Regions from separate parts of the Homo sapiens genome. Here regions 2 and 3 are each linked to region 1. Evidence: promoter capture Hi-C in 16 types of primary human blood cells and fetal thymus (Javierre and others, 2016). All regions are on one chromosome and are shown on one strand. The core of a region is centred on a gene start or on the middle of the fragment in contact, and the rest is flanking DNA. Distances in the headings are between cores, read along the strand shown. Region 1 holds the start of MS4A4E (membrane spanning 4-domains A4E). Region 2 holds the start of OOSP2 (oocyte secreted protein 2). Region 3 holds the start of MS4A3 (membrane spanning 4-domains A3).

Evidence for each region. Contacts are between HindIII fragments. The CHiCAGO score rates a contact against its expected background, and 5 or more counts as called.
Region 2: a contact is called between the fragment with the promoter of OOSP2 here and the fragment with the promoter of MS4A4E in region 1, in 3 of 17 cell types (erythroblasts, naive CD8 T cells and fetal thymus). The highest score is 9.0, in erythroblasts.
Region 3: the fragment with the promoter of MS4A3 here is called in contact with the fragment with the promoter of MS4A4E in region 1 in 2 of 17 cell types (neutrophils and total B cells); the score reaches 8.0 in neutrophils.

Annotation. Positions count from the first base shown.
Region 1 is chr11:60,240,913-60,245,137 of GRCh38, forward strand. MS4A4E (membrane spanning 4-domains A4E) reads right to left here and starts at 2,225. Exons shown (of 9, transcript NM_001393391.1): 1 at 2,046-2,225. The HindIII fragment of the contact is 3,157 bases long and covers 1,404-4,225 here.
Region 2 is chr11:60,037,937-60,042,161 of GRCh38, forward strand. It overlaps OOSP2 (oocyte secreted protein 2), which reads left to right and starts at 2,473. Exons shown (of 4, transcript NM_173801.5): 1 at 2,473-2,587. The coding sequence starts at 2,524. The HindIII fragment of the contact is 6,208 bases long and covers 188-4,225 here.
Region 3 is chr11:60,054,162-60,058,386 of GRCh38, forward strand. MS4A3 (membrane spanning 4-domains A3) reads left to right here and starts at 2,504. Exons shown (of 7, transcript NM_006138.5): 1 at 2,504-2,579. The HindIII fragment of the contact is 11,991 bases long and covers 1-4,225 here.

The sequences.
Region 1 (4,225 bases), core at 975-3,474:
TTATTTTCCTTTTACACCACAGAAACCAAAGTTATTTTGAAAGAAACTGAAGATAATTCTTCTTAGTCCATCTAAATGTGTACTTTTTATTTATTTATTTATTTATTTATTTACTTATTTATTTATTTTGAGGCGGAGTCTCGCTCTGTTGCCCAGGCTGGCGTGCAGTGGTGCAATCTCGGCTCACTGCAAGCTCCGCCTCCCGGGTTCACGCCATTCTCCTGCCTCAGCCTCCAGAGTAGCTGGGGCTACCGGCGCCTGCCACCACGCCTGGCTAATTTTTTTGTATTTTTAGTAGAGAAGGGATTTCACCGTGTTAGCCAGGATGGTCTCGATCCTCTGACCTCGTGATCCACCCACCTGGGCCTCCCAAAGTGCTGGAATTACAGGCGTGAGCCACCGCACCCGGCCTATTCTTTAATGTAAGGGAAACTCGGCCTCAATCTCTCACGCACACCTTCAGACTGAGAATTTAGGACATGTTGGGTCTGTCTTATCAAACACACTTGGTAGTTCTCCCTCTGTGTTTAGTGCCTCTCGGGTAAGGCTGTAAGCTTCCTGAGGGCCGAGCCATTATATCAAATTAAGGCTTATAATTGACTCTTATGATTTTCCATAATTCTTTGGTAACATAGGTCAGGTTCTGGTCATTCAAGGCTGGTGCTCTGTCTTTATAAGACATTCTTGACATAAATTTATATAACTGCCTCCTATCTTTACACCACAGAAATCCATGTGTTAATTATCTAGGGTAGATAAGGTCCCCAAGGAAAGAAAGCGTGTGTTTACAAGACTCCACTTCTCTACAATCAAAATATATATTTTTTAACTGCAGAGAATATTGGATACATATGAGGGAGGGACATTTCTTTCAGGTTGGAGAAGAATCTAAACCTTGGTTTTGCCACATCACCTATATGCATCAGGTTCTTGACAACTACAATGTCTTCCCCGCCCCTCCTCCCCACCCCGGATAAAGAGGTGGGGTAACCTAGACCACCCTTCCCTCTTCTATTGGCCCCAGTCTCCTTGTGGATCAGCAGCACCAGCAGTCTCTTGTTTCCTCATTTTTATGTCACCATCCCCCTTATGGGTCACAACACAAGAGAGCATGAGGAGAGTGGTATACACGGTCATCCCCTTTTTCTTGGCAGAGTTATCAAATAGACTAGAAACCCAAAATGAGGCCTGAATCTGGATGGTTTTTAGGAGGATGATGGGGATGCAGAAATGGTGGCATGGGAAGGGAAAAGGGGGAAAGGCCTGGGCTAGGAACCAAGAATTCTGGGTTTTTTGCTCCTAGCCCTTTTGTTAACTTGTGTGATTCTAGGTACATTATTTCCCTTTTCTGGATTTCATTTACTTCATCTGGGGAAAGATTACAATGACTACGACTACTTACAAGCTTCTTTCTTATCCTAAGAATGCTAAAAGTCTACAAGATGTTTTTCATTTGCAGATTTTATCATGAGCAGCCTCAGTTTACTGCCTGGGTGCCACATGAATAGTGCCAAAGACCACTGGAGAACTACGTCAGGCCACAGCCCATCTAAATGTACAAGGCTGGGGACCCTGCCTGTGCCCTACTCCATGTACACCAAATTCTGCACGTGCTAGATCTTTTCTTAAGTCTTGAATTATAAAAATAACCAGTCAGAGACAAAGAATAAAGACCATGGAAGAAGTGCATTAACAGTAGATGAGGTAATTAATCAAAGTTTAAAATGTTGCTTACAGTGTTTTGGTATCCTGAGAACTTACGGAACAAAAGTAACTAAAACAACTTCATCCAGCCTCCAGTGTCAGCCTTTAGGAGGCTTTTCTAACTCCCATCAACTGTAGCGAAGACTGTTCCTCAACCACCCACAACCCTCACCAAATGCATATTTAAATGTGCACTCAATCCACCCCAACCCTGACTACCAGCTTGGGTCATGGGAAGTGACCTCATTTTTTTTTCTCACTCCACTCCCAGAAATCCTAAACCCAGGAAATGAAACAAACTATCAGTCCGAGAGCCTAGGAAGGCAAGTCCCTGGACCTACCTTTCTTCAGGCCTGCAATGTCTGCTGCAGGTCTGATGAGTGCAGGGCTCTGGGCAAGTTCCTCAAAGTTCTTTGTTCCAGACACAGTCAGCTTCCCCCACTCCACACCTCACTCAGTTTAAATCTGCACTCCTTTTCTAGTAGATGTTTGGAACCTTAAAGGATGTGTTGAGAACTTCTGAGACACACAACTAGTTCCTCTTTTTTATCGGAAGCATTAACTGATTTTGCGTTCCCAATATGGGTGTGGACGTTTATTTTGAAATTTGCTGAAAAAGCAGTGGCTGCCTGATACAGTCTTTCCTATGAAAATAATAGTGCTAATTACTGTGGGTATCAGTGGTGGAGGATTTTCTGTTTGCCAGACTCTGCTCAAAGATTGTTATATACACAACTAAGTAAATGGTAATTTATAAATGCCCCCTTTCACAATTTCACACATTTCCACAGTACTCTTCTTCCCAGAGAACTACTGTTACTATTGTATTAGGTTGGTGAAAAAGTAATTGTGCCTTAATATACACAACTTAAATATCTTATTTTCATGATATTTCACCTTTGGAGGTTCAACATGAATAGCCACAAAATGGGAACAAGTTGGTTGTACAGCAATAATTAATACAACACCTTTCTAAGTCAAAGAAGCAGCTGGTATCATAGAACAAGCTGGTCTTTGACTAAGACAAACCCAATGGCAATCATTTCTTGTATGACCTTGTTAATCCCCTGAACCTGATTCATTGGTAAAATAAAATAATGCCTTCTTTACATGGAGGAAAGCAAAGTGGCATGCAATTTTCATTCACTCAGCATTTTCTTAGAGAAAAGCTACTATAAGCCAAGCAGTGTGCCATGTGCTTCAGATAAAATGGTGAAAAATGATTTTCGCTCAAGGATTTTATAGGCTACTTGACAATATAGACAAGTAAATAAATCACCCATTATAATCAGTTACCTGCAAGGTAAAGTGGCAATGCTGATGAATAAATAAATCATTACAACCCATTATAATCAGTGATCTGCAAGGTAAAATTGGATATCCTGAGAGAGCTCATAGGAGGATCAAAGAACTCAACGTTGGGTAGGTAGGCAGAGGAGACTTCCTAGATAAAGGGACATCTAATTGGAGACCTGATGAATAAGCAAAAGACACACAAATGGAAGAAGGATGGAGCTAGGTAACATTATTATTCCCATTTTCCAGAAGATGGAACTGAAACTCAGAGATATTCATATAGCTGGTATAGATGAGATTGAAATCCAGTTTTGCCTAATCCCAAAAACTTTGTTGTCTATAATCTGAAATTATTTTAATTCTCAGAATTAAATGGGTTATATTTCAGAAATATTGTCCTGGTTTTCATGTAAAGCAACAATAGGAATAAATAATACTGAAATCAGGGAGTTAGGGTTAAGAAAGAGGCAGTTCTCTAGGGAAGGGATGATGGTTACTGAACTACCTATGATGCTAGTGAAGTTGGAGAGAATGAATGGATTTGAAAGATGTTTAGGAACGAGAAATGACAGTACTTGTTGATATAATGGATGTGTAAATCAGGAGAGAAAACAGGAAAGGATGGCGCTCAGATTCTGGGTTAGGAAACTGAATGAATGATAGAGCCATTCAGTAAGGCAATAGACATGGACCAAGACAGAACTGCAGGAACAAAGAGTAAGACTTGGAGCATATTTAATTTGAATTGTGTGGGCACCTTCAAATAAGGTTCACAAAAGTTGGATAACTGGCAGGAGCTAGGGAATGAGAACATGGCTGTAGAGGTAAACCCAACAGCTCTTCACCCAGAGGGATGAGGTTACCCAGGCTTGTGGGAGGAGGCAGAAAAAATCAGACCCTTTTTGCTAGAGAATAGAAACAGTATTATCAGAAATAAGGGTTTCCAGAGGATGGCAAAAAGAGATTAAAGAAGATAACAGGCAAACTAGGAAAATGTGGCATTACAGAAGACAAAGGTACAGAGTTTCATGACTTTATAAGAGAGGTTGAAATTCTAGACTAAGAACAGATGTCAATCTTACCTCCTCTTCCATATAGTGTGAAGTGAGATATTATTAGTGTTATTCTTAGCAGACAAGTGATTGAGGATTTATGGTGATATAAAGAACAATAAAATTGAAATTTGACAGAGAAACATAAATAGAATCACCCTACCTCTAAATAA
Region 2 (4,225 bases), core at 1,223-3,722, 200 kb before region 1:
TGCCCATGAATGTTTCTGTAACATCATGTGCAGATAATTGGGAAAATTTTAGTTCAGAGTTATGCAGATGTTTTAAGTGATGATATTTTATTATGCAATACAAGAAATCATAGTTAAGATATCACCAGTGAGCTTCCAAGCTCATAGTAGAGAATACAACTTTTTCAAAATGCTAATTTTTCCTTTAAGCTTGAATTTTATCACTGAGTTTAATTGTTGTTAGTTGTTTTCTTTGAAGTGACAAGTTTACATCATTCAATTTCAAAAAATGTCGAATACCCACGGGCGAATAATCATTGTTTGTCTGATAGTCATTCTTTAAGTAAAGATGGTGTTCTATGTAACAAGTGGCTAGTTCAGCTCACAGCTCCAATAACTGCACAGATTTTCCTTGAGACACTCTTCATACTTTGATACGCAGCAAAAGTGTATTATGCATACTTTCTATTTTATCACTCTGAATAGTAAAAAGGCATGCATTCAACGGTTGGCATTTAATAAAACAGATACTTTTTACTGCTTCAAGACTTAAGTGAAACTGGCTTTTTCCCTTTACTGTGAGTGCACAGGGGTGAAGAATACAATGGTGACTAACAAACTAACACATTCTTATGCTACTACCTTGATTGGTGCTCAAGAGGCAGGAGCATTTCCCACCACTGTTTTTGCACACCTGTGCAAATGTCGACATTATGAAAAAGAAAATGTGTTATTGTGAAAATAGATCTGATCCCATGGACCCCTCCATCATCTAAGTTCCAATTATTGAGAAGCACTCTAGTAGAAGAATGGCCTTATTTGTTGGATATATACTTCAAAATATTTACAGTCAAGGGAACATCTTACCAGCAACCTGCTCTCAAAAGGTCCAGGAAAAAGAAAGTTTTTTTGTACTATAGTTGCAACATTTCCCTAAGTTATAAATTGTTTTAAAATATTTGTTTTATCTCTGCTTTATCTCCATTTTACATTAAAGTTATATTTAAATTCCATTACTGTTTCACAGTAAAATTCTGTATTAAAATTGGAATTTTTGGAAAATGAACTTTGTTCATTCTGCGGCTTTGAGTAATCCTTGAAACATTGCATAAAGTCCTGTTACTAACTGTGCTTCAAGATACAGGAAATAGTCATATATTAGATATTTTTTGTACGCTATTGACTTGAGCAAGACAGTTTACATTTGCTATGTCTTATTCACAATAAGTTTAGAGAGAATATATCTCCTTTTTACAGCGTATGAACAGCAGCCTTAGCTTGTTTAACTTTCTCAAACTGAAATACAAGAAACTGGCCAATGATTCCTTTTGGAACAATATTAGATGTTTACATAGGCAAGATTTAAAAGCTGCATATGAAGTTAATAAATTTTAGATCCTGAAAATGTTCTTAACATCAGAAAAATGTTTAAAGAAATGAAAGATGAAAAAATAACATGTAGACTTGCCCTTCTCTTTCTCTAATACTCTTTCCCCATTGGTGGTTGGGCGACTGGATTCTCCAGGCTTTCCTGATGCAGAGCACTGTGTGGGTCACAGCTTTGGGGATCTCACTGTCCACAAGAGAATGTAATGTCAGAAATAGAAGTCCTTCTTAAATGCATAGGGAAGCTCTGTGCATGTAGTCATTTGACAGCAGACTGTAACATTGAAAATATAATTCAGATATGACTAAAAGCAATAATAGGCATTTAATTCAGCCTCTTTGAATTTTATTTACTGTTAGCCTTTGATTTTCAATTACCCTTAAAACCACGCAGTCACATTCAGGCCGTGACTAACATTTTAAAAAAATACAATAAAAATCTTTGGCTGGAACTTTTATTCTACTTCAGTATTGAAAAAATCATAAATATAAATTATTATACATATACAGTTATGTGTATATATATGCATATAAAATATTCTCTTGTCTCAGGTTTGAAATGACTAAAGTTACCAACACCTTAATTTAGAAAGAATCAACAGAGAGGGAATTGTCAACTTTCCTAATACCAATAGACTTGACTTTCCTTTGGGTGCCTGTCCCCTCCTAGAGATTTATGTTCCTGGTCAAGTCAGTTTATCATGTCTGCTTTGCTTCTTCCAGCCAAACCCATAGAAATGAAGAAATAATAGTCTTTTGATTTCAAGTATGAAAGATCTAGGCTGTTCTCATATTAGATGGAAACTTAAAACACCTGAACGTTAGCTAGTAAGAACAGTTTCCTGTAATTTAGTATTTACTGGAAGCATTGTGTGCCATGCCATCCTCCTGATGTTTGTAACAGGACTTGTAAAGACTGTTATCAAATAACACTTTTTTCTTGATATGTCTCTTTGAGCTTCAGTGTTTGGATAATCAAGAGAGTCTCAGCCTTTAGGTAGCTGACACTGTGATAAGAGCATCCTGTGAACTACCCAAATAAGGAGGAAAACGAACGCAGCTGAGCATGGGATGCCATATAAAAATCACTTAAACCAGTCGCCACTCCTTGTTTCCTGAGTTGTCCTGTGCTGGAGGTCTGCTCAGACGAAGGTCTCCATGGCGTTAGAAGTCTTGATGCTCCTCGCTGTCTTGATTTGGACCGGTGCTGAGAACCTCCATGGTAAATAACAAGTTTTAGAGAATGCTTCCTCGAAGGAGTTAATCATAATGATCGCTTTCCATGCAGGTGTTTTACTCCCTGAAGAAATCTGATCTTATTCTAACTGGCTAGAAGAAGAAGCGCTTTCAGGCCAAGTAGACTTGTGTCAATATACGGAGGATACATTTTCTCTTTCTGCCTAAATGTCCCAGTTCTCAGGCTTTTATTTCTCTCTCTCTCTGTTTTGGTCTTCTCTCTAACTTGAGACTCATTTTCAGAGGTTCTTCAGGAATAGTCCTTGGCTCTCTTTCAGTCTAACATTTCAAACCCCTGCCAATTACTGGTGCTTGATTGTATCACATTGTAAGATATTCAGTTGCATCTTAGCTGATCTTCCTGCTTCCAGACTCATATTTTTGCTTAATGCTGATATTATTGCTGTTTTGTTCCCTTAAAAAGACTGCTCTGAACTTCACCCATGTTAAACTCATCAACGGTTCTGCAAAGTTAATAGGAGAAAGCTAAGTCAGCGCGTTGCTGTCTACAAGTTGATTCCAATGTATCTTTTCTGTTTTGCCTGGAATCCAAATGCTTGCCAGCTCCAAGGCCTGACTAAATGTAATCTGTAAAGTAGCATTTCAATATTACTTTTTATGTTCTTTATGGTTTCTTTTTGTAGACTTTTTTTGGTAATTTGAAAGGGGGTTTTTCTTTGAAACTGATACGTCAATTTCTTACCCATTTGGCCTGTAATACCTTTGGAAGCAAAGATCACATATAGCTCCTGATATTTTTCCATTTTACCTAAGATGAATTTTAAGAATGCCTAGATCAGTGAAGCTCACCAGGTAACAGTTAACAGTTAATTATTGAAATGAACAGCACATGGAGAGAAAGAGCCACTGTGAATTCTGGCTATTTAGGGTGGGTAGGGTGTTTAGGCCCTAACTGTCTTTCAGGAAGCCTGAGCAAAGGAAGATTCTGCTGCAGTGAAAGTATCTATGTGTGTTTCTCAGGCTTTTCTCAGCTATTTGATAGAACGTCAGACTAAAACTGAGTTTCTGGCTGGGCACGGTGGCTGATACCTGTAATCCCAGCACTTTGGGAAGCCGAGACGGGTGGATCACCAGAGGTCAGGAGGAGTTCGAGACCAGCTTGGCCAACATGGTGAAACCTCGTCTCTACTAAAAATACAAAAAGTAGCCTTGTGTAGTGGTGGGCGCCTGTAATCCCAGCTACACGGGAGGCTCAGGCAGGAGAATCACTTGAACCCGGGAGGCGGAGCTTGCAGTGAGCTGAGATCACACCACTGCACTCCAGCCTGGGTGACAGAGCGAGACTCTGTCTCAAAAAAAAAAAAAAAAAAAAGCAAAACTCCGTCTGAAAAACAGGCTGGGTACACGGTGGCTCACGCCTGTAATCCCAGCACTTTGGGAGCCCAAGGTGGGCGGATCACGAGGTCAGCCAGGCGTGATGGCGGGTGCCTGTAGCCTGTAGTCCCAGCTACTCGGGAGGCTGAGGCAGGAGAATGGCATGAACCTGGGAGGCGGAGCTTGCAGTGAGCGGAGACAGCGCCACTGCACTCCATCCTGGGTGACAGAGCGAGACTCCGTCTCAAAACAAACAAACAAAAAAACCCCCCCAAAACTCGACTTTCTA
Region 3 (4,225 bases), core at 1,254-3,753, 190 kb before region 1:
CCCAGCTACTCGGGAGTCTGAGGCAGGAGAATTGCTTGAACCCGGAGGCGGAGCTTGCAGTGAGCTGAGATCGCGCCACTGCACTCCAGCCTGGTGACAGAGTGAGACTCTGTCTCAAATAAATACATAAAAAATAAAAATAATTTTTATGTATTTATTTTACTGTTCCCCCCTCAGCTTTAATGAGGTACAGTCAGATACATATGTTCTGCAGATCTAATGAACAGCATGATAACTGAAGTTAATACTGTACTATGTACTTGAAGTTTAAGAGAGGAGATCTTAAATGTTCTCACCACCACCACCAAAAAAAAAAAAAGATGATTATGTGATCTGATGTGATCAGTAGATTATCTGCTTTGTGTTAGTGACTTCACAATGCACACATGTGTCAAAACATGTTGTACATGGTAAGTATATTAAATTTTTATTTGTGAATCTTCCTTTGAAAGCAGTTTCTCACAATCATTCTCTAAGGAATTGAAGAAAGAGCTCAATCATTTTTATTATTTACTTTGAACTCATGTGAAGATCTTAGTTATTAAGACCTTTACATGCATTCTGTCATTTATACTTTATACCCCAAAGTGGGCACTATGATCTTCAACTTACAAATGGGAGAACCGAAGTCTTAGAGTTTAAGTAACTTCCTTTCATGGCTTTTTCTACAGCTCCAAATTCAAAAAGAGCATGTTGAAAGCATCCACTCTTTCCTTTCATTTCTTCAGATTTCTTTCTCTTCTTCGCTGAAGGCATTTTCTTGTCATCTCTTTCTTCTTCAGTATTCCATTTGCAATGGTTCTGGATAAAACGGGGAGGGAAGGATCTTATCTTTACCACCTTCCTTTTGGCTATTTCCTTCTGACTTCTGTCTCTGTCTCTGTCTTCTCTTTCATCAGTCCCTTCCTTCGCTCCTAAATGTAGACCCTGGAGAGCCGCTGCCCTAGGGCTCAGGTGCCAGCTCTCTTAGCAGAAGCACCTGTGCAGAAATTTTCTGGCAACTGGGCCCCTGCTCATTTCATATTCACAATCTCTGCCCACACACTATGTTTTGGTCTTGGTAACTGGCCCTCTTTCTCTTTCCTGTGATCACGTCCCCACTGACGCTCCTGTTTGTAGGACTAGGACCTCGCTTTCCTTGCTGTGAACATTCTTCTCTGTCTCACAGACTCCCCTGGGGCATGGATCAGGGGCTGTGCCCTCATTCTTTCTCTCAGGCCTGGCCCTGTGACCTTCATAAGGATTGTGGTTTGAATCTTCACGTTACCTACTTCCTTACTCCTTGTCACTTGGCTCTGATCTTTCTATTGCCTATTTTAGGACATTTATTTAGGATAAGCATATAATTTGGCCACTTTTGAAACTGAAAGGAGGCCGGGCGCGATGGCTCATGCCTGTAATCCCAGCACTTTGGGAGGCTGAGGCAGGTGAATCACCGGAGGTCAGGAGTTCGAGACCAGCATGACCAATACGGTGAAACCCTGTCTCTACTAAAAATACAAAAATTAGCTGGGAGTGGTGGTGCATGCCTGTAGTTGCAGCTATTCAGGAGGCTGGAACAGGAGAATTGCTTGAACCCGGGAGGCGGAGGTTGCAGTAAGCCAAGATTGCACCATTGCATTCCAGCCTGGATGACAGAGTGAGACGCCATCTCAATAAACAAACGAAACAAACAAACAAATACAAAAAACCTAAAAAAACCAAAAAACAAAAAAGAAACTGAAAGGAGGGGTTTTAACAATCATATTAGGATAACAGGCACACTTCGGGCTTCACCATTGTACAAAACAGAGATTTTGCACAGGGCTTTTCCAGTTAAATTTTAGGAAAGCTGGGTAACATTTCTATACCATAGTTTTCTCTACCATAACATCGGGTTAATAGTAGTACCTGGGTCCTGGGTTATTGTGAGGATGAGATGAATTAACATATGTAAAGCATTCAGAACAATGACCTGTATGTAGTAACCATTTAATACATTTAAACAATAATTAGCATTATTATTATATCTGTGATATTGGGCAAAGTAATTAACCTCTCTAAGCATGTAAGAATTGAATGTCATCACGCATATAAGGTACATAGCACCGTTGCTGGCACATCATGTAAAATAAGTGCCTGAGTGACCACCTCCCTCCTCCAGATGCTTCTCTTACAGTGTGACTTTGTCTCTTCTTGCTATGCACCTAACACTGTTCTACCTCCAACCCACAACCTCTTCCCACTTGTCTACCCATATTGTTGCTTGTGTTTCCTGTTCCAGCAATGTGTTAAGCAACATCTGAAAGCCAGAAGACAGTTATCCCTCACACCAGTTTCCTAATCATCACTAAGCCCTGGGGAAACACAATGGATCAGCGAGGCCCCAAATGCAGATGTGATTAGCACACTGGTCAGTCAGCCCGCAAAACACTTTCACCAAGTCCTCTAAAGTGTTGCATAAGGCAAAGATAACGTTAAGTCTGTGGAGGCTTCCGTTATCGGGAAAAGATGCTGTAGTGATCTTTTCTGAGTGTCTCCTACTTGCGACAAGGTGGACTTGGGAGGAAAGCCGTCTGCCAAAGCCTGAAGCCTCCAAGGTATAGATTCCCTCTCCATAGACATTCCCCTTTCTTTTATATCTTTCGTTAAAATGCCTCCCAGTGGACTACTGGGGATGTCTGCAAAGGTCTCTGTTTGGTTGCTATGTAGAGGTTTGGAACATTTAACTGTGAACATGGCTTCTCTTTAGGATGTGATGATTCCTTTGGAGCCATGATAAAAAGTGTTAGACATAATAATACAGCAATTTCTTTGGGAAAATGTGGGTATGGATACACACACATGCACACGCACCTCTTAGGTACATTAAATCCCACTGGCTGCACCTGAGTTTGTCTGCCAGCTCTGATGATGAGGGGTGGTCTCGATATGCCTGAAGTATGGGGTCTGCAAAGTGCATTTTAGCATAGCTCAGGGGACAGTGGAGTGTAATGATAGCTTGAGGTTCTGATTTTTAGCTTCTCAAATTGCTGGCTGTGTGGGCTTGGGAAAGCTACTTAACTTCTTTGTTCCTCAGCTTCTTCATCTGTTAGATGGAAAGGATCATAGCAGTAGTACCCATTCATCTGATGTTGTGAGAACTAAATTAGTAAACATGGATAAAGCCCTTAGAACAAATGCCTGCCACATACTAAGAGCTGGAGAGATGAACTTAACTGGCAGTTTCCTAGAAAATCTACATTTCTCTGATTTTGTGTGTGTGTGTGTGTGTGTGAGAGAGAGACAGAGTCTCGCTCTGTCACCCAGGCTGGAGTGCAATGGCACGATTTCGGCTCACTGCAAACTCCGCCTCATGGGTTCAAACAATTCTCCTGCCTCAGCCTCCTGAGTAGCTGGGATTACAGGCGCGTGCTGTCACAACCAGCTAATTTTATGTGTTTTTAGTAGAAACAGGGTTTCACCATGTTAGCAAGGATGATCTCAATCTCCTGACCTTGAGATCCTCCCGCCTCTGCCTCCCAAAGTGCTGGGATTACAGGCATGAGCCACTGCACCCGGACCATTTCTCTGATTTTTTTAAAAATAAATAACTGATTTAACCAAATTTTAGAAAACATAGTTTGTTTCACCTGGAGGCTGAAAATTCTCCCTGATTATTTTGATTATTTGAAACAAATCAAGTTAAATAATATGGTTAGATATTTGCTCTCTTCAGAAATGCTCTTGGAGTTTCTTGAGATGAGAGGCTCCAGTGCTTGCAGAGGTATTTTCCATCATCATTTATCAGGATGGCTACCTTGGGCTGGACCAAAAGTCTGGTTACTGATTGAACATGTGTGTTAACTGAGTGCTTGCCATCTGATGATTCTGAGCTAGGCACTGGAGTTGCAGTGATGAGTAGACAACGAGGTAACAGACAAGTATCCAGGCAATTAAAGCTCAGGCTGATTAAGTGGTATGAGAAGGAAAGTTGAGGAAATTTTGAGAGCAACCCAAAGGGGTGCATGCTTCTTCCAGAGTTGGCCAGGACTAAAAACAGCATCCTGGAAGTATGACATGTGGGCTGAAAATCAGTCTGGAAGGGCCGGGCGCATTGATTCACGCCTGTAATCCCAGCACTTTGGGAGGCTGAGGTGGGTGGATCACCTAGGTCAAGAGTTCGAGACCAGCCTGGCCAACATGGTAAAACCCCATCTCTACTAAAAGTACAAAAATTAGCTGGGTGTGGTGGTGCACGCCTGTA